Regions from separate parts of the Homo sapiens genome. Here regions 2, 3 and 4 are each linked to region 1. Evidence: promoter capture Hi-C in 16 types of primary human blood cells and fetal thymus (Javierre and others, 2016). All regions are on one chromosome and are shown on one strand. Each heading gives the region's core, a stretch centred on a gene start or on the middle of the fragment in contact. The rest is flanking DNA. Distances are from core to core; before and after follow the strand shown. Region 1 holds the start of KIF3C (kinesin family member 3C). Region 2 overlaps HADHA (hydroxyacyl-CoA dehydrogenase trifunctional multienzyme complex subunit alpha). Region 3 overlaps GAREM2 (GRB2 associated regulator of MAPK1 subtype 2). Region 4 has its middle 13 kb from the start of GAREM2.

Evidence for each region. The method cuts DNA at HindIII sites, captures the fragments that hold promoters and counts their contacts. A CHiCAGO score of 5 or more calls a contact.
Region 2: a fragment that was not itself captured here is called in contact with the fragment with the promoter of KIF3C in region 1 in 1 of 17 cell types (M2 macrophages); the score reaches 5.2 in M2 macrophages.
Region 3: a fragment that was not itself captured here is called in contact with the fragment with the promoter of KIF3C in region 1 in 2 of 17 cell types (M2 macrophages and neutrophils); the score reaches 6.4 in M2 macrophages.
Region 4: a fragment that was not itself captured here is called in contact with the fragment with the promoter of KIF3C in region 1 in 6 of 17 cell types (erythroblasts, M2 macrophages, megakaryocytes and 3 more); the score reaches 6.5 in erythroblasts.

The regions. Positions count from the first base shown.
Region 1 is chr2:25,980,379-25,984,692 of GRCh38, forward strand. It overlaps KIF3C (kinesin family member 3C), which reads right to left and starts at 2,119. Exons shown (of 8, transcript NM_002254.8): 1 at 1-2,119. The coding sequence starts at 1,539. RefSeq lists enhancers at 1-380, 890-1,398, 1,399-1,908 and silencers at 1,898-2,057, 2,198-2,367. The HindIII fragment of the contact is 7,922 bases long and covers 1-4,314 here.
Region 2 is chr2:26,192,035-26,196,348 of GRCh38, forward strand. It overlaps HADHA (hydroxyacyl-CoA dehydrogenase trifunctional multienzyme complex subunit alpha), which reads right to left. Exons shown (of 20, transcript NM_000182.5): 15 at 3,058-3,198; 16 at 2,536-2,604; 17 at 1,543-1,738; 18 at 276-390. It also overlaps a transcript of GAREM2 not described here. Among named protein-coding and RNA genes, the nearest start is that of GAREM2, 21 kb to the left of the region's middle. The HindIII fragment of the contact is 754 bases long and covers 1,696-2,449 here.
Region 3 is chr2:26,174,279-26,178,592 of GRCh38, forward strand. GAREM2 (GRB2 associated regulator of MAPK1 subtype 2) reads left to right here. Exons shown (of 6, transcript NM_001168241.2): 2 at 2,066-2,206. Among named protein-coding and RNA genes, the nearest start is that of GAREM2, 3.3 kb to the left of the region's middle. RefSeq lists enhancers at 1,272-1,810, 4,132-4,314. The HindIII fragment of the contact is 3,235 bases long and covers 720-3,954 here.
Region 4 is chr2:26,157,982-26,162,295 of GRCh38, forward strand. It overlaps the pseudogene PPIL1P1. Among named protein-coding and RNA genes, the nearest start is that of GAREM2, 13 kb to the right of the region's middle. The HindIII fragment of the contact is 3,371 bases long and covers 453-3,823 here.

The sequences.
Region 1 (4,314 bases), core at 869-3,368:
CTTGGCCGCAAGCAGCTCTGTGGCCTGCTGTTCCCGCCGCAGGTCCTCCAGCATCTTCTCCTTCTCCTCCAGCAGCTTCTGCTTCTCCTCGCTCACCAGGCTGCGGTCATCCTGGATGGCTGCCTTCTCCTCCTCCAGCCGCTCCTTCTGTTCCTGCAGGTAATTCTCCATGTTCTTCTCCAAGGCTGACTCCAGGATGGGCTGGGGCGGGCGGTGGTTGTTGTTGTTGTCATCCTCCTCTTCTGCCACCCAGGCCTCAATCACTGGGCCCTCAGGGTACCCAGGCGGGGCGGACACGGCCTTCTTCCTGCGGCTGCTCTTCCTCCGGGGCCGCTTCCCCAGCATCCCCCTCTTCTCCAGCTGGGCCTTCAGGCGGGCAATCTCCTCTTGGAATTCCCGCAGCAGTGTGTCCTTGGGGTCCTCGTTCACCCGGGGCTTGTTCTTGATGTTCTTGGCTCGGTTGGCAAAGCGCAAGGTGGAGAGGCTCTCATCGTAGCTGTGAGAAGCTGGCCCCAGTGTGGCTACCATGATGGTCTTGGCATTCCCCCCCAGGGAGTCCTGGAGCAGCCGGGTCAGCTTGGAGTCCCGGTAGGGAATGTGGGTGCTCCTGTTGCCCGCCAGGGCAGCAATCACGTTGCCCAGGGCAGATAATGAGAGGTTGATTTTGGAGGCTTCCTTAGGCCTCTCTCCACCAGCACCACCACCACTGCCTCCACCGCCACCACCGCCACCCGAGGATGGTGTGGCTGCCCCTCCCGCTGTGTTGGGGCCTGCCTTGTTCTGCCTCTCGCTGCCAGCCAGGTCCACGAGGTTGAGCTTGCCCACTCGGATGTGGTCCTGGCCATCAGAGCCACGTTCGCTGCACTCCACAGTGATGATGAAGATGGCATGGGAGCGGGAGCTGACCTCATTCATGTGGGTGCTGCCCACAGCCCGGGTCTGGTTCCCCAGGTTCATCACATGCTCAATCTCCTTGACATTCTTGGTGACGAAGGAGGAGAGGTCCTTGATGTAGACGCCAGTCTCGGGGTTCTCTTTCAGCTCTAGCCTCTTGCCCGGCTCCTTGGAGAGCAGGTCTCGAATCTCTTCCTGGTAGATCTCCAAATAGGAGGCCCGGACCAGGTACTGTTGGTTCTGGGAGCGGGAGATGTGGGTGAAGATGTGCTCAAAGGCATTCGGGATGACCCCGCGCAGCTCGGGCTCCACCCAGGTCCCCTGCATGGTATAGGTCTTGCCAGTGCCCGTCTGGCCATAGGCAAACACCGTGCCATTGAAACCCTGGAGCACGGAGTCTATCAGGGGCCTCACGGTTTCGTCATACAGGTCGGCCTGCTTGGAGCTGGCATCATACACGGCGTCAAAGGTGAAGGTCTTGGGCAGCTCCCCCGGGGCGGCGCGGGGGTTCCGCAGGGTCACCTGGCCCAGTTTCACGTCCATGGTCAGGATCTGCTCGTGACCAGCAGCCTCCTCCTTCCTGCTGAGGGGGCGGCACCGGGCCACCACCTTGAGGGCCTCGCTGGCCTTGGTCTTACTGGCCATCTTGCTGCTCTGACCTTCCTGCCCCCGAGCCCCTCCGCAGCCTGGGCGGTCCTGCTATCCTGCTCGCTAGGTCGGGATCAGCGGGGCCGGCCCAGCCCCCAGGCGCAGCTCTTCAATCCGCATGCAGCCTCCTAGGGTGGGGACGCTGGGAGGTGGCCCCAACGCTGCTGCAGTCCGGGCCTCCACCGCTCTCCGGTCCTCTCTGCACCGGCTGGGAGGTGAATTAGGCAGAATCCCCCAGTCGCCGCGGGAGCAGCGCCTGCCGAGCAGCCGTGCCCGGAGCCCGCCCCATGCAGGAGCAGAGGGAGCGCTGCCGTAAACAGCTTCGGCAACAATGAGATAAAGGAAGAGGAAAATGGGATGGGGGTGGGCGGCGAGCTGTCTTCTCCTCCTTCCTCTAGGGATCCATAGCGTGGGCTGCCGGTCGTGGGCGGCCGGGGGTCCCGGGCCTCCCGAGGGCAGAGGCTCACCTGGAGTCCTCCCCCCAAGCTGGGGGATCATTCATTGCAGCCAGCGCGGCTGCTGCTGCCTCTGCCTCCGCCTTCCCCGCCGCCGCCACTGGAGAATGAGAGAGAAAAACAGAAGGGGATGGGGCGGAGCAGCGGCAGCGAGAGTGATGTTGCCGCCGCGCTGCGGCCCCAGCTAAGCCTCCCGACTGGGGTGGGGCAGGGGGCGGGGCCGCGGGGCGGGAGGCGCGAGCCCGGAGCGGCCCGGGTGCGGGGGACAGGGGCGCATCGCCGTCTCTGCACCCCCGCCGACCGCTCCGGGATGACAGGCTCCGGTGCCGACCCAGGTCCTGCGCCCACCAGTCGGGTGCAGCGCAGCCACCGCCCGCCGTCACCCCACCGAGCCCGAGCATGCCGGGAATTGTAGTCCTGCCTTTGTTAACCGGGTTCTGGCAGGTTGCTAATGCCTTTCCCGGTCCCCCAGTCCGGGAGGCGCCTCCCTCATCCGCATGCCACCCCTTGAGTGACTGCTGAGCTTGCACCACCTATGCCTGGTCCCTCCGAGCCACCATCCTCGGACACCCCCCTGCTCCTGCCTTTCTGCCTGCAAATGGGTGCGCGTCACCCCTCCCCGTCAGGGTGTCGCCAGGCCTCCGGGAACCGAACTCCTAAATGTTCCTTGACTCTGTCCTTTCCTCCCCCTGTCCCGGTCTACTTCTGGCCTTCCTCTTCTCTCTGCTGGAGCCCACCTTCCAGCTGATTCTCTCGCACCTTATGTCCGCACAAGCACCCGGGAGCCCCCTCGCTCCTCCTCCACCGCCTTCCTTGTGTGAAAGCCTCTCCATCTTCCGCCTTCGCAGCCTCACCGCCACTACTCCTCTATAGAAAAATCTGTGTTCCAGACAGCCATTTCTTCAGTTATCCAGCGCCTGCTGAGCCCCAGGCCCCATTCTAGGATCTGGGTCCTTCCTGTCCTCAAGCAGTGCACATTCCCGGAACCGTGTTTTGTTTCTTTAACTGGCTTTGCTGTGCAGCATCTTTGTGCTTTTGCCCAGAGGCCTGGTCACCCTTCGGCACTTAGTGCCCTGCCACTTGGGCAGTTCAAGCACCTCCTCCTCCACGAAGCCTTCCCTTAGCAATTTTTTTTTTTCTATAGTGAAAGAGGCACAGAATTTACCTAAGACAAAACCTGGATTGAAGTTCCAGTTCTGATGGCCATCCAATGGAGTGGCTTTGAGCAGTCACTCCCCTTGCTCCAGCCTTAGTTTCCTCATTTATTTTTTTAAAAATTCGAGGCGGGAAAGAAATAATTAACAACTACTTCATGGAATGGTTGGGAGGCTCAAATGAAATAATGAATCATGAAGTACTGTACCATGAGAAGTCCTGCCCTGGCTTGGATTGCCTGACAGCTCCTGCTTCCTTGAGTATCCTGGATAGACCATGTCTGTGCTTGGTGTTCCTCTATGGGAGTCTTAATCTTTTTTTTTTTTCCTGTAGGATACAAATAAAGTGTAATTCCACAAGGCCAAGGACCAAGCCAGAGTCCTATCCATGGTCCACTCTGCAGAGGGCAGTTGAGTCTGTGGACTGAGCCCAAGCTGTCTGTCTTTACTCTCCATATGAGAACCAGATTGAGAGGTGCTGTTATCTGAAACCTGGAGACCCTTCTTCACAGAGGCACCAGAAGAGTCTTTCCACAAAACATTTCCAAGCATGTTATCCTCTAGAGGACCCAATTGTTTAGTTTTCCAACTCAACAAAATTTACCTCCTTAACTCTTCCCCATCCCAGAACTTTAGCGTGAGCTGGACTAGAGGCTTGAGACTTAGCTGAGAGCTTGCCCGCTTCTGAAGCTCCCTGGCCTCCCTCCACCCTCTCCTTGATTAAGCTCCACTGCTTATGATTAACATGGCTTTTGGACCAATTACGGGGTGGGGTTTTGGCTCCGTAGACTAACCCCTCTTGGCTCTCACAACATGATTTCTGGATGGAGCCTTTAGTTCTTCAACTATTTTCTGGTTGCATTCGGCTTTGGGTTTTGAATACCCTTTCTCTGCTTAGGCTAATGTATCTGACACTACAGCGCTGGATAAAAGGGATTCTCACCCTGTTCTCCCCACTTGATGTCACCACCTGGCAGGGGACTTACCCAGATCCTCTTGTGTGAGAGGGAGATTGGAATCGCGTTGCTTACAAGATGTGTGATCCTAGGCCAGGCGCGGTGGCTCACGCCTATAATCCCAGCACTTTGGGAGGCCGAGGCGGGTGGATCATGAGGTCAAGAGATCGAGACCATCTTGGCCAACATCATGAAACCTCATCTCTA
Region 2 (4,314 bases), core at 823-3,322, 210 kb after region 1:
ACCTAGATGCTGGGCAGAGACCAAGGAGCACGTGCGAGGGCCTTCCACTTGGAAAGCACCATGCCAGCATCAGGAGTGGTCCTCCTGTTCAGGTATGGTGGTCACAAAGAAAATGGAAGACAGCACCATGGCACGTGTATACCTATGTAACAAACCTGCACATGTATCCCAGGACTTAAAGTATTAAAAAAAAAAAAAAATGGAAGAGGGGCTGGGAAGCTTTGGGCTGTCAGAGAAAGTCAATTTCCAGGCATTAGCCACTCAAACGGACTTACACTTCAGACTTAGGAGGCAGCTTCAGACTCGCTAAAATACTATCCATGTCAGAATTCAAATCCTTCCTCTTCACACCCTCCTGATAGATGTAAAAGCCCTTCCCAGATTTACGACCTAAAACAGGCAAGAAAAGGGAGTGTTACTATTTGTTCTCAGGGAGGGAGTGTTACTATTTGTTCTCAGAACCCTGGCCTGGCCAGGCGTGGTGGCTCACGCCTGTAATCCCAGCACTTTGGGAGGCCGAGGCGGAGGATCATTTGAGGTCAGGAGTTTGAGACCAGCCTGGCCAACATGGTGAAACCCCATCTCTACTAAAAATACAAAAATTAGCTGGGCGAAGCAGGAGGATCGCTTGAACCCGGGAGGTGGAGACGAGATTATGCCACTGCACTCCAGCCTGGGCAACAGTGTGAGACTCTGTCTCAAAAAAAAACAAAAAACAAACAAAAAAGACCCTGACCTGAGAATTCTTGTCTCTGTTGGTCTATTATAAAGCTCTGGCCTCTTCTGAATTCCTGAATTTGTATGTCTAGCTAACCCTAGCAAATTAGTCTTTGTCAGAAGAGTGGGCAGAGAAGGAAAGAAGATCTTGTGACCCGGAGCTTGGGCATCTGTGTACATGGATGAGAAAGGCCACCTGGGTGAGTTTTAACATCCCCATATGCAGCACCGGGTCCTAGAACACCCAGGTTGTAATGCTGATTTTGCTGTTTTGCCAAGACAGAAAGTCACTTCTCTGTGGGCCTCAACTGTATACTGTGTATGGTGAGCTTATACATTCTCCTCACAGGTGGCCAGACAGCATGGTAAAGCCCGGATGCAGAGCTTGCTTCTGCACTATTGCAGATTTCATCTCTGGGGGATAAAAATGCTTGTCCATCTGGCATAACTTGGACCAGGTGATGCTAGAGCCCCAGAAGGGTAGAACTCTGCCTTTTGTCCATAATCTATAGTCCTAGCCCTTAGAAGGTTCACATGACATCTTTTTTTTTTTTTTTTTTTGAGAAGGGGCCTCGCCATGTTGCCCAGGCTGGCCTCACACTTCTGGGCTCAAGCGATCCTCCCACCTCAGCCTCCTAAGCAGCTAAGACCATAAGTGGTTGCTACCGCACCTGACTCATAAAATCATTTTTGAAATCGCCAGTGATAAGGGCTCTGTGTTTAGAAAACTTTCTTCCACGAGGGCTTCTGTAACTCTTTGGTCTCAGGAACTGCTTAGAACTTTGTAACTAATGGTGCTAGTTATGTTTCCTTGAGGCTACTCACCTAGGAAGCCCTTGGACACCATCTGTGTCAGCAGTTCTGGGTTTCCACCTCCAAACCGCTCCCCAAAGACTTTGCCCAGATCTTCCGCCACATGTTTCGCTACATCCACACCAACTTCATCCACCAGTGTGGCGGCACCCACAGGAAAGCCAAAGCTTGTGGTCAGGGAATCCAGCTTCTTCGGGTCAACTCCTTCCTGAACAGGAAGCGATGCAGGGACCTCAGGGGAAGGGCAGCCCAAATCCCCCCAAAGGGCTCCCTGTACTGGCTCCAAACACTGCCTTGTGTAAAACCCACTTCTGAGTGTCACCTGACCAGGCCCAGGACTGGTGCTATTTCATTCAGGGAAGCACAAAGAAGTTTGGGGCCACAAGTGGAAAGTCTGAGCCTTCTCTAATCTACAGCACTTTAAGGACGTTTAGAGATGACTAAATTCTTCATTTTCTTCTTGTTTGCATTTCTGAATCTCAATAATAAGGAGATTGCATGACAGACGGCTGAGTGTGTCATGACCAACAGAAGAAACATCATCAAAGAGGAGCACTCAGAGCCCTGTGATCCCCAAGTCTGGGTAAGTGCCCAGCGAGGAGGATCCCTCTCCTTTCCTGCCAGAATGACCTCGATGGCTACTGGAGAGGTCTGTGTGCTGTGGAAACAGATGCAGCACCAGTTGAACCAAGCGGGCCCTGTTCTGGATGGTCCCTGCCTCAGAGAGGTGCAGAAACAGCATAGAAGACATGCTGGGGGGTGGGGTGCCTTTAGCTTGCTGGAACAGTGAGGAGGCTGTGGGGCAGAGGGAAAGCTCTGCCCCTTTCAGTGCAGTATAAGCCCAACTTCCGACTGCTGTGCAGAGAGAGGGCACCAGGGACCTTCCTAGACAAGAGCAGGAGTTGGTGTATCAGAAGGAAGCTTGGTCCTTATCTTGACATCATGAGTTTTAGAGTGACTGAAGGAGTGGAAGATGCCGCAAACACTCTGGAGAGCAATACCAACCTGGAGGATTCGGATGACTTCAGACATCATGGGCGCAAGACACCTGGTAGTATAGAAGCCAGGTCCATCCTGCCAAGGAAGAGAACATGAGCTCCCTGGCCCTGCTGCTGGGACTGAGTCTGAAACACTCTACCTTTCCCAGGGTCACTTCAAAGTCATTTGAAAGTCACTGTAAAACTTAAGGTGACTTAAAATCTCAATCAGAATCCTTAAAAATGAAATTGCAGGGGAAGCCGTACTAGGGGTAGCCTGGCTTGAATCAAACAGTACAGCAGATAGTTTCATGGTCACCTTCAAGGTCTGGGATGGCTGGGAGAACCCTGCCACATCCTAGATACTCCCCACTCCCACCTTGACTCAGTGGGACAGTCAATACCACCGTCCATCCTGGAGACAACCCAGGGGAAAATCATATCAAAGTCTGGTCATTTGCCCCAGAATATTTATAAACAAGCCTGGAGGTAAAAGGAGTCTTATTAGAACTTTTCAAAAACTCTGCAGCTCTGTTATACAGCCCCTTACCTTAACCACAATGATGACCTTCCCCTGCTTGAGACCAACTGCTACAGCTGAAGCACTGGTGTCTTTGGAAGTTTTCTCGGTCGTGATAATCTCCAGCAGCTGCATCTTGTCCACGGGAGAGAAGTAGTGCATGCCAATCACCTGGCAAGGGGAACCAAAAGCCAACAGATCGGAGAATGCGGGTGAGGAACCTGAGAGCATTCCTTCTCTGCTAGGAAAACACTAGAAAGAAAGGTGGCTGTGATATAGGAATACTGCTTGACATAGCTGAGTGGTTTGGTTCCATGGGTCTTTGATAAAAGTTTAGTATGTTTAGGGAGAGCACATTGGAATCCTCCTCTTCCATTTGCTTCTAAGGTTTTTCACTACAGACATCTGATCCTCCCAACAATCAGTGCCAAAACCACAGCTCGAGGCCAAACTAGATTTATTGGGGAACGACGGATGAAGGTTCCACTTATATTAATGATACTGATGGTTTAGATAAGAGGATCCAGTTTTTTTGGGCGGGGGTGGGGCAGGCAGAAGAATTAATGTGTTGGGCTGTCAGAGAAGTATTTGCATTTTACACAGATGGGTCTCACCACCAGGATACTAGGTTTAACTAACACTCCTCAACAGTCAGATGCACTTAAGACTCATTAAACCAGCAGTTCTCCAAGTGTAGTACCCGGACCCAACAAGCACTGTCATCACCTGGGAGCGTTAGGCCTGCACATTCTCAGGCCTAGCCCAGCCCTACTGAATCAGAAACTCCATGGGTGGGGCCCAGATTTGTTTTAATAATCCCTCCTGGTGATTCTGATGCGTGCTAAGGTTTCAGAGAAACCCCTCATTGAGCTAACAGTTACATAGTCTTCCCAACAGAACTGTGGTGAAAGAAGTCTAATTCATTAATTTATAGTTTTGCTTTCTCCCTCTCACTTTAGCTATAAGGTACAACAAGTGATATCTGTAATTTTTGGCTGCTCATTATCTACCTGCTCTTCAATACATTTACCACTTATTCCTTACATTTAATCCATTACAACCCTATGAACTGGTCAGCCTAATTATCTAGATGAGGAAAAAAGGTATCAAGAGGTTAGTAGTACAGAGTCAGTCAGCATATGACGGGGTGGGATTCCATCACAGGTCTGTCTATCTCCAATGCCATTATGTAATACACAGATCAAGTAAATGTTATGTAAACTTATCAATCCAAAAGTTGTTTCTAACCCCTAAAGTGTTCTTTTACTTACATCTGAAATACTTAGG
Region 3 (4,314 bases), core at 1,087-3,586, 190 kb after region 1:
GAGCATCGGCGCCCCGCCGTCGGGCAGGCCAGCGTCTAGTTCTCTGGCTCGCGGCCGAGTGGTCAGAGTGTGGTACTGTGTCTGCCTGTGAATGGAGGTCGCTGCCCTGGGGTCTTCTGGCCACTTCCCACACATCCTTTTTGGCATCTCCCCTTTCTGGGCAGCTTTTCTGAGCTCCTCGGTCTGCGTAGGGCCTCCTTTGGGCTCCCCGGCCACCTCATGCCAACTCTGGCTTGTCTCCTACTGTGCACCCCATTATAATGGTCAGTCAGTTTATTGTCTTTAGACCTGGCTGTGGGCTCCTTGAGACCAGGCATCCTTGCCCAATAAAGATTATGGATTGAATGAATGGGTGAGTGAATGAACAACTGGTGTGATGGCCCAGCTGTCTGTTGTGTGTGACAGTGTGTGGCTATGGCTGGGTCACCATCAGGGTGTGAATGTCTGGTCAGAATTGTATGGCTTGAAGGGTAGGTCCCTGTGTGCCTGTGCATTTGGGAGGGGCCCCTTGGCCGGAGACTGAGTTATGTTGTTTGGGTGACAAGCATCTGTCACTGTGGGCTATTGTGGTTCAGCTGTTGGTGGTCATGAGCCATGATTACTGCTGTGTGCCCATGTGGCTGTGAAGATGGGGCTAGGACCCAGGACAGCTCTCAGAGGAGGGAGCAGAGTTGGAGGAGAGCTTCTTGGGCCCCCGGAGGTGAGGAGGTACAGGGGAAAGCTTAGACAACACCCCCAACACACACATAGTGGGGGCCAGGCCCTTCCTGTGCGTCTTGAACCGCCCGCCACCCTGCCACACACACACACACACATACACACACACGCCTACCCCACATGTACACATTTTATGGAGCCCCCAGCCATCAGAGTAAACCATTTCCCATTTGATTGGCAGAAATTTTGTAAGTTGTGCCTGAAGGAGAAAGGAAGGAGGTACTCCCTACCCCCACCCTCCCCACCAGCTGCAGCCCGGACACAGCCCCTTCTGCCTCCTGGAAGCTGGGCTGCCCCTCCTGCTCCCCTGGAAACCGTTGCTGGGGTTGGCGCCTCCAGGCCCAGACCCCTCCCAACTCCCAACACCTCTGCCCCAGAGCAGCTTCCCCCAGGCCCCAGGGCTGGGCCTCCCACTCCTGCCTTCTAAACCTGCTCTCTCAACCCCTCCAACCCTCAGCCGTCACCCCTGTAACTGGGAGGATGAGGGGGCGTGGGGAGGGGGTGTCAAGGAGCTGCTTCTCTGAGATGGGGTTGGGGGTTTCTGGGGACTCCCCCCTCTCCTTCGAGGTCCCCTTGACAAGGCAGTGGGTGGCTTCTCTGAGATGGGGTTGGGGGTTTCTGGGGACTCCCCCCCTCTCCTTCGAGGTCCCCTGAACAAGGCAGTGGGTGGAAAGGAAGGGCTGCCCTTGGGAGAGGCAGTAATCAGCTGCTCTAAGCCCTGTCATTCTCCTGACCTGAGCGACCCGTGGCTCTGGGGGAGCTCTCACAGCTGGGACCTTATAAGGGACAGTCCCGTCCGGGCCCTCTCCACTGCCCCAGTAGGGCCCTTCTTGCAGGGCCTAGGCCCTGACTGGGAAGCACAGCTCCAGCATCTCCTGCTCAATAAAGTCTCCCTTCGCCACCACACCCCCAGCTGGAGCCTACTGCTGCCCTCCGGGTCCCCAGACATACTCCAGTCAGTGCCTCAAACTTGCCTAGTCTCTGGTACATCTCTGCCCACCTCCCCAGGGGCCTAAGGGCTCCTGGAGGGCAGGGGCTGGTCTGGGCTCATCCATGGGGAGCTCCCCCTGCTCCAGCTCAGAGCCAGGGACAGCAGGCATTCCAGCCACTGATGAACGAGGGGCCCCGTCGGGAGTCACAGCCCTGAGAGGCTCACAGCCAGCCCCACAGCCCCAGGCCCCAGCTGGCAGCCCGCCTGTCCCTTGAGCTTTGCTGACCTGGACAGGGATTGTGTGGAGCTGTCCCTCAGGGGGGCGGTCTTGGTGAGGACGTCACTATCTGTTCTTTCTGCCCCTTCTAATGTCCTGTCTTCCTTCCCCTCATCCTCTGTCCTCCTCCCCCTTCCCAGGGGAGTACGCCGAGGGCGTCAGTGAGCGAGACATCCTGCTCATCCACTCCTGCCGGCAGTGGACAACGGTGACAGCTCATACCCTGGAGGAGGGCCACTATGTCATCGGGCCCAAGATCGACATCCCCCTGCAGTACCCAGGTGTGTCCAGCCAGGACAGATGTCATAAAGCCTGTAGGGGGGTGTAGGCAGGAGGGACTGGGGCCAGGGGTAGGGGGAACGCTGGGACTAGCGAGGCGGTGATTAGGGTTAGGGTTGGAGTCAGAGCCCAGCAGTTTTCATTCTGTTCTGTGGCACTCTGGGTTTCTGGAGAGGTGGCTCACAGGTTTTTTGATTCACATTTTATTTTAAAGTAGATTTGAAACTAATGATTAAAAAATACCCACACTCTTAAATTACTACACATCAGAGCTTAACCCTAATCAGAGGCCTTCAGGGTATACCTTCGGCTGCCACGCTTAGCCATCTTTGTGCAGACCCTCCAAGAGAACATGTCCTGCCAGGACCTTTTCTGTACCGCGCAACCAAATACCGCAGAAACCAGCGAATGCCCAAGCTGGTTACATGGCTGCACCTCTCCGCGCTGATCCTGTTTTTCCCAATTTTTGCGTTAAACCTATTGTTTCCATTGGTTGACTTTATAAGTGAATATTAAAAATTTTAGACTTCTAAAGATTATGCTAATGGACTACCTTTATTAGTTTTATACGTGACGTTGACATATAATAAGATTTTGTTTGAAGAAAGGATTCTGTTACCAAAACAGAGTACAGCCCCTTCCTTTTACAGATGATGAAACGGAAGGCTTGGGGGAGGAGGTGACTTGCCCCGTGTCACACATCTAGGAAAGGAAGAGCCTGGCCAGATCCAGGTATCTCAACTGAGGGCTGGTGTCTGCTGCACTACACCAGGAGCGTGTGGTTGCTGTCCCCTGTGTGGGAGGGATGGGAGTCTGGTGGCCCCATCCCAGAGACGTCCCCGTGTGAGCCCCGGATCCCACATCTGCCATGTGTTAAGCATGTGCTGCATGCCATATGCTGGGCCGAACATTTTTGCCATTTCATCCTCATGGCAACCTGATGAGAAAGTCTTGTCAACTCCATTTAACTCACCAGGAAACTGAGGCTCCAGGAGTTTCAGTGGCTTGCCCAGTGCCATGTTTTTTATTTCATTTTTTGTGTTTTTAGAGATGGTCTCCTTATGTTGCCCAGGATGGTCTCAAACTCCTGGTCTCAATGAAGCCTCCTGCCTCAGTCTCCCAGAGTGCTGGGATTATAGGTGTGAGTCACTGGGCCAGGCCCAGTTCTGTGTGTGTGTGTGTGTTTTCTGTTGCTCAGGCTGGAGAGGAGAGGCGCCATCTTGGCTCACTGCCTCCGAGGTTCAAGGGATTCTCCTGCCTCGGCCTACCAAGTAGCTGGGATTACAGGTGCCTGCCACCACTCTCTGCTAATTTTTGTATTTTTAGTAGAGACAGGGTTTCACCATGTTGGCCAGGCTGGTCTCAAACTCCTGACCTCAAGTGATCCGGCCGCCTTGGCCTCCCAAAGTGCTGGAATTACAGGTGTCAGCCACCAAACCCAGCCCAGTTCTGTGTTTTTAACTGCTGTGCCCAGCTGCTCCTGACAACCCCCTCACCAAGGCTGGGAAGGTCCCATTGCTTCTTCACAGGTACCCCTGCCTCCTCTGGCCCTGGGTCTCCCTGAGCCAGGAGGACAGGACTGAGCCCTTTACAGAGGCTTCTGTCTTTTACAGCCTGTGAAGTTGGTACCTGTGTACTCCACCCCCCAAACCCTTAAAAGATGTGGAAACTCACTCAGATTTCTTTCTGACCTGGGGTTCTATCTTGGGCTTGGAGCCCACTGGGGGCCTGCTCAAGCTAGAAATTTCCAAGCTTGGTTCAGGGGGAGGTCCCAGGTCTTCTTGGGATAAAAAAAGCAAAAGTTGCCTGAGCAGTGGCTCTTATATGTAATCCTAGTGCTTTGCTGAGACAGGAGGCTCCTTTGAGGCCAGGAGTTCCAGGCCAGCCTGGGCAACATAGCGAGAACAAACAAAAACAAAAACAAACAACCCCCCCCCCCAACAACAAATAAATTAGCTAGGCGTGGTGGCGCAGGCCTGTAGTCTGGCTACTGGGGATACTGAAGCCAGGTGGGGGGGATCCCTTTAGTCCAGGAGGTTGAGCCTACAGTGAGTTATGATGGTACCCCTGCATTCCAGCCTGGGAGACAGAGCAAGATGGTGTTTCTAAA
Region 4 (4,314 bases), core at 888-3,387, 180 kb after region 1:
ACCACCACACCTGGCTAATTTTTCTATTTTTTGTAGAGACAAGGTCTTGCTATATTGCCAAGCCTGGTCTCAAACTCCTGGCCTCAAGCAATCTTCCTGTCTCAGCCTCCTGTCTCAAAGTGTTAAAATTACAGGCATGAGCCACTGTGCTTAGCCTAAATTTTAAATTCTTAAATGATGAAGTTTAAATTTGTTGTGAATGTAAATTTATGTGAATGTTACCTCGATTTTAAAAAATAGTGTTACATAATTTAATCAATGGTTCATTAGTAAATTAAACAGTTTCGTTACTGATGGAAGATATCTGAGTTACCTGGAGTTACCCACGGTGAATCTGTACGGATCTGCGGCAACCTTAATTCTTGCCTCCTTGGAAGAAAGAATTCAACCGAGGGGCATAGGGCAGAAGAGACAGAGGCATGTTTCAGAGCAGGAGTGGAAGTTTATTAAAAAGCTTTAGAACAGTAAGGAAAGGAAGGAAAGGGAAAAAAAAGAAGGAAAATACAACTTGGAAGAGGGAAGTGGGATGACCTGAGAAACCAGTGTGCAGCTTGACCTCTGGACTTGGGGCTTTATATATTGGCATACTTCCGGGATCTTGCATTATAACTTCTCCCCATTCCTGAGATCTTACTGGGAAGCTGCTGATCAGTTTCAGGTATTTTCTATCTATTAGGAAACTGTCCTTCCCTGGCACCAGCTGTGACGAATTATTACTTTAGAGAAACAGGTGGCCGGGCACAGTGGCTCATGCCTGTAATCCCAGCACTTTGGGAGGCCGAGAAGGGCGGATCACCTGAGGCCAGGAGTTCAAGACCAGCCTGGCCAACATAGTGACACCTCCCCCCACCATCTCTACTAAAAATGCAAAAATTAGTCAGGCTTGGTGGCGCGGGCCTGTAGTCCCAGCTACTTGGGAGACTGAGGCAGGAGAGTCGCTTGAACCCAGGAGGCAGAGGTTGCAGTGAGCCGAGATCATGCCACTGCCCTCCAGCCTGGGTGACAGAGCAAGACCCTGTCTCAAAAAAAAAAAAAAAAAAAGAGAAACAGTTAACAACCACCTGACCATCACCTGACAGGTCTCCCAACACGCCTGGTCTATGTGTTGGTGGGGAGCACTCTCCGGCGCTGCTCATACCTGACTAGCTACCTACTGTAACAATTTGACTTAATAAGATTCCACTGACTGGCCGGGTGCAGTGACTCCTGCCTATAATCCCAACTCTTGGGGAGGCCAAAGTGGGTGGATCACTTGAAGTCAGCAGTTCGAAACAAGTCTGGCCAACATGGTGAAACCCTGTCTCTACTAAAAATACAAAAATTAGCCGGGCGTGGTGGCACGAGTCTGTAATCCCAGCTACTTGGGAGGCTGAGGCAGGAGAATCGCTTGAACTTGGGAGGTGAAGGTTGCAGTGAGCCGAGATTGTGCCACTGCACTCCAGCCTGGGGGACAGAGCAAGACTTTGACTCAAAAAAAATAAAAATAAAAATAAAAATAAAAAATAAAAAAAAGAAAAAGAAGAAAAGATTCCACTGACAATACAAATAAATTGAAATCTGTAATTTGATTAAAAAGTAGAGATTCTCATGTCATGTAATAGTGATTTCACAGTGAGTTTTGAGTTTACACTGGGTTTACTAGTGAGGTCAGGACCATAACATGAAAGATAATCCAATTGACCATGAAGGCGTTCCCATCAGTTGTTCAGTCACTCTGTAGGTGACTGGGTGGGGGCTTTCCCACAACTTCTGGAAACTCCTTGGTGGGCGGATCACCTGAGGCCAGGGGTTCAAGACCAGCCTGGCCAACATGGTGAAACCCCATCTCTACTAAAAATAATTTTAAAGAAAGTGAGCCAGGCGTGGTGGTGCATGACTGTAATCCCAGCCACTCGGGAGGCTGAGGCAGGAGAATCGCTTGAACCCAGGAGGCGAAGGCTGCAGTGAGCTGAGATCGCGCCACTGCACTCCAGCCTAGGTGACAAAGCCAGTGAGACTGTCTCAAAAAAAAAAAAAGTACCAATTATGCTATGGTTTTGTGCTGGGAACAACTCTATTTCCCCAGGAACTAGGGGATCTCGCTCCTTTTCCTGTTCTGATTCCAGTGGAATGCCAGTGTGTCAACTCCTAGGATTTGCTGCCATCTTCAAGACATCAGGTCTTAAATCTGGAGAAGGAAGCTACACCACGCTTTTGGAGCCATGCATATTATCCAGGTCTATCTATTGCTCAGATTGGCAGAGGAGTGCTTTTGGTGTTTATCTTAAAGTAAGTTGTCACCCAACCCAAGGTCACCTAGATTTTCTCTTGTGTTATTCTCTAGGAGTGCTATTATTTTATATTTTACATTTAGGTCTATGATCCATTTTGAAATAATTCTTGTGAAGGATGTAAGGTCTGTGTCTAGATTAGTTTTTTTGTTATATGTATGTCCAATTGTTCTGGAACCATTTGTTGAAAAAGACTGTGCTTTTTCCATTGAATTGCCTCTCCTCCTTTGTCAGAGATCAGTTGACTATATTTGTGTGGATCTATTTCCGAGGTCTCTATTCTACTCCATTGATGTATTTGTCTTATTGCACAGATTGGAATTTCAGGGGAATTGTTGGACAATCTGTTTCAGGCGACAAAGGCAAAGCTGTTGGATCCCCAGCTAATTATTGACTTGGCTCACAGAAAAGATGTTGGATTATTTCAACCGGTTTTATTTTTTTGTTTTTTTTGTTTTTTTTTTTTTTGTGAGACAGTCTCGCTCTGTTGCCCAGGCTGGAGTGCAGTGGCGCGATCTCGGCTCATTGCAAGCTCCGCCTCCCGGGTTCACACCATTCTCCTACCTCAGCCTCCCAAGTAGCTGGAACTATAGGCGCCCGCCACCACGCCCAGCTAATTTTTTGTATTTTTAGTAGAGACGGGGTTTCACTGTGTTAGCCAGGATGGTCTCGATCTCCTGACCTTGGGATCCGCCTGCCTCGGCCTCCCAAAGTGCTGGGATTACAGGTGTGAGCCACCTCGCCCGGCCTATTTCTACAGTTTTACTCCATCATTTGCAGTCACTTAAGCCCAGATGACACCAAGTCCATCTGAGATGTTCAGGCAAGTGTGATTCTGAAATGGTGTGAAAGACCACTGACACAAAACCTCTCTTTTGGGAAACAGTTTGAATAATTTTTTTTTTTTTGAGACAGAGTCTCGCTCTGTTGCCCAGGCTGGAGTGCAGTGGCATGATCTCGGCCCACTGTAACCTCTGCTTCCTGGGTTCAAGCGATTCTCCTGCCTCAGCCTCCCGAGTAGCTGGGATTACAGGCACCCACCACCATGTCTGGCTAATTTTGCATTTTTAGTAGAGATGGGGTTTCGCCATGTTGGTCAGACCACCTCAGCCTCCCAAAGTGCTGGGATTACAGGCGTGAGCCACCATGCCCAACCCGAATAAAGTAATTTTTAAAGGATTCTGAAACTTGCCATGTTTTGAAAGTAAAGAACACCATTTAAAAAGCAAGAGATGGGCTGGGTGCAGTGGCACATGCCTGTAATCCCAGCACTTTGGGAGGCCAAGGCGGGTGGATCACTTGAGGTCAGGAGTTCGAGACCTGTCTGGCCAACATGGTGAAACCCCATCTCTACTAAATACAAACATTAGCTGGGCGTGGTGGTGCACGCCTGTAATCCCAGCTACCTGGGGGCTAAGGCATGAGAATTGCTTGAACCTGGGAGGCAAAGGTTGCAGTGAGCCAAGATCGCTCCAGCTGGGGCGACAGAGTAAGACTCTGTCTCAAAAAAATAAAATAAATAAATAAATAGGAAGAGATGAAAAGGATAATAAAGCTTCAGTTTAAAAATGTCTTAGAATGAAGCATGCATTTTTGTTCTTGCGCCCAGCTTCTTCTCGCCTGGCACCTTAGCTTCCTGGTATTGGAAGAAGGGACCGTCCTCTTCCTTGTCCCGGCCCCCTAAATCCTGCCATTGAAAGGGTTGAATGGTGGGGACTGGAGGTGTGCTCAGCAGCAGCAGGGGTCCCCAGATAATCGATGCCAGAAGTAGCAGTTGCTAGAGAAGCATTCTGCCCACTTCACTATGGCGGCACTTCCTCCAGACTCCTGGCAGCCACCCAGTGTTTACTTGGAGACCAGCATGGGAATAATTGTACCGGAGCTGTATCGGAAGCATGCTCCAAAGACCTGTAAGAACTGCTGAGATGACTCGTCGAGGTTACTACAGTGGCACAAAATTCCACAGAATCATCGAGGATTTCATGATCCAAAAAGGTGACCCAACAGGGACAGGTTGAGGTGGTGCATTTATCTATGGCAAACA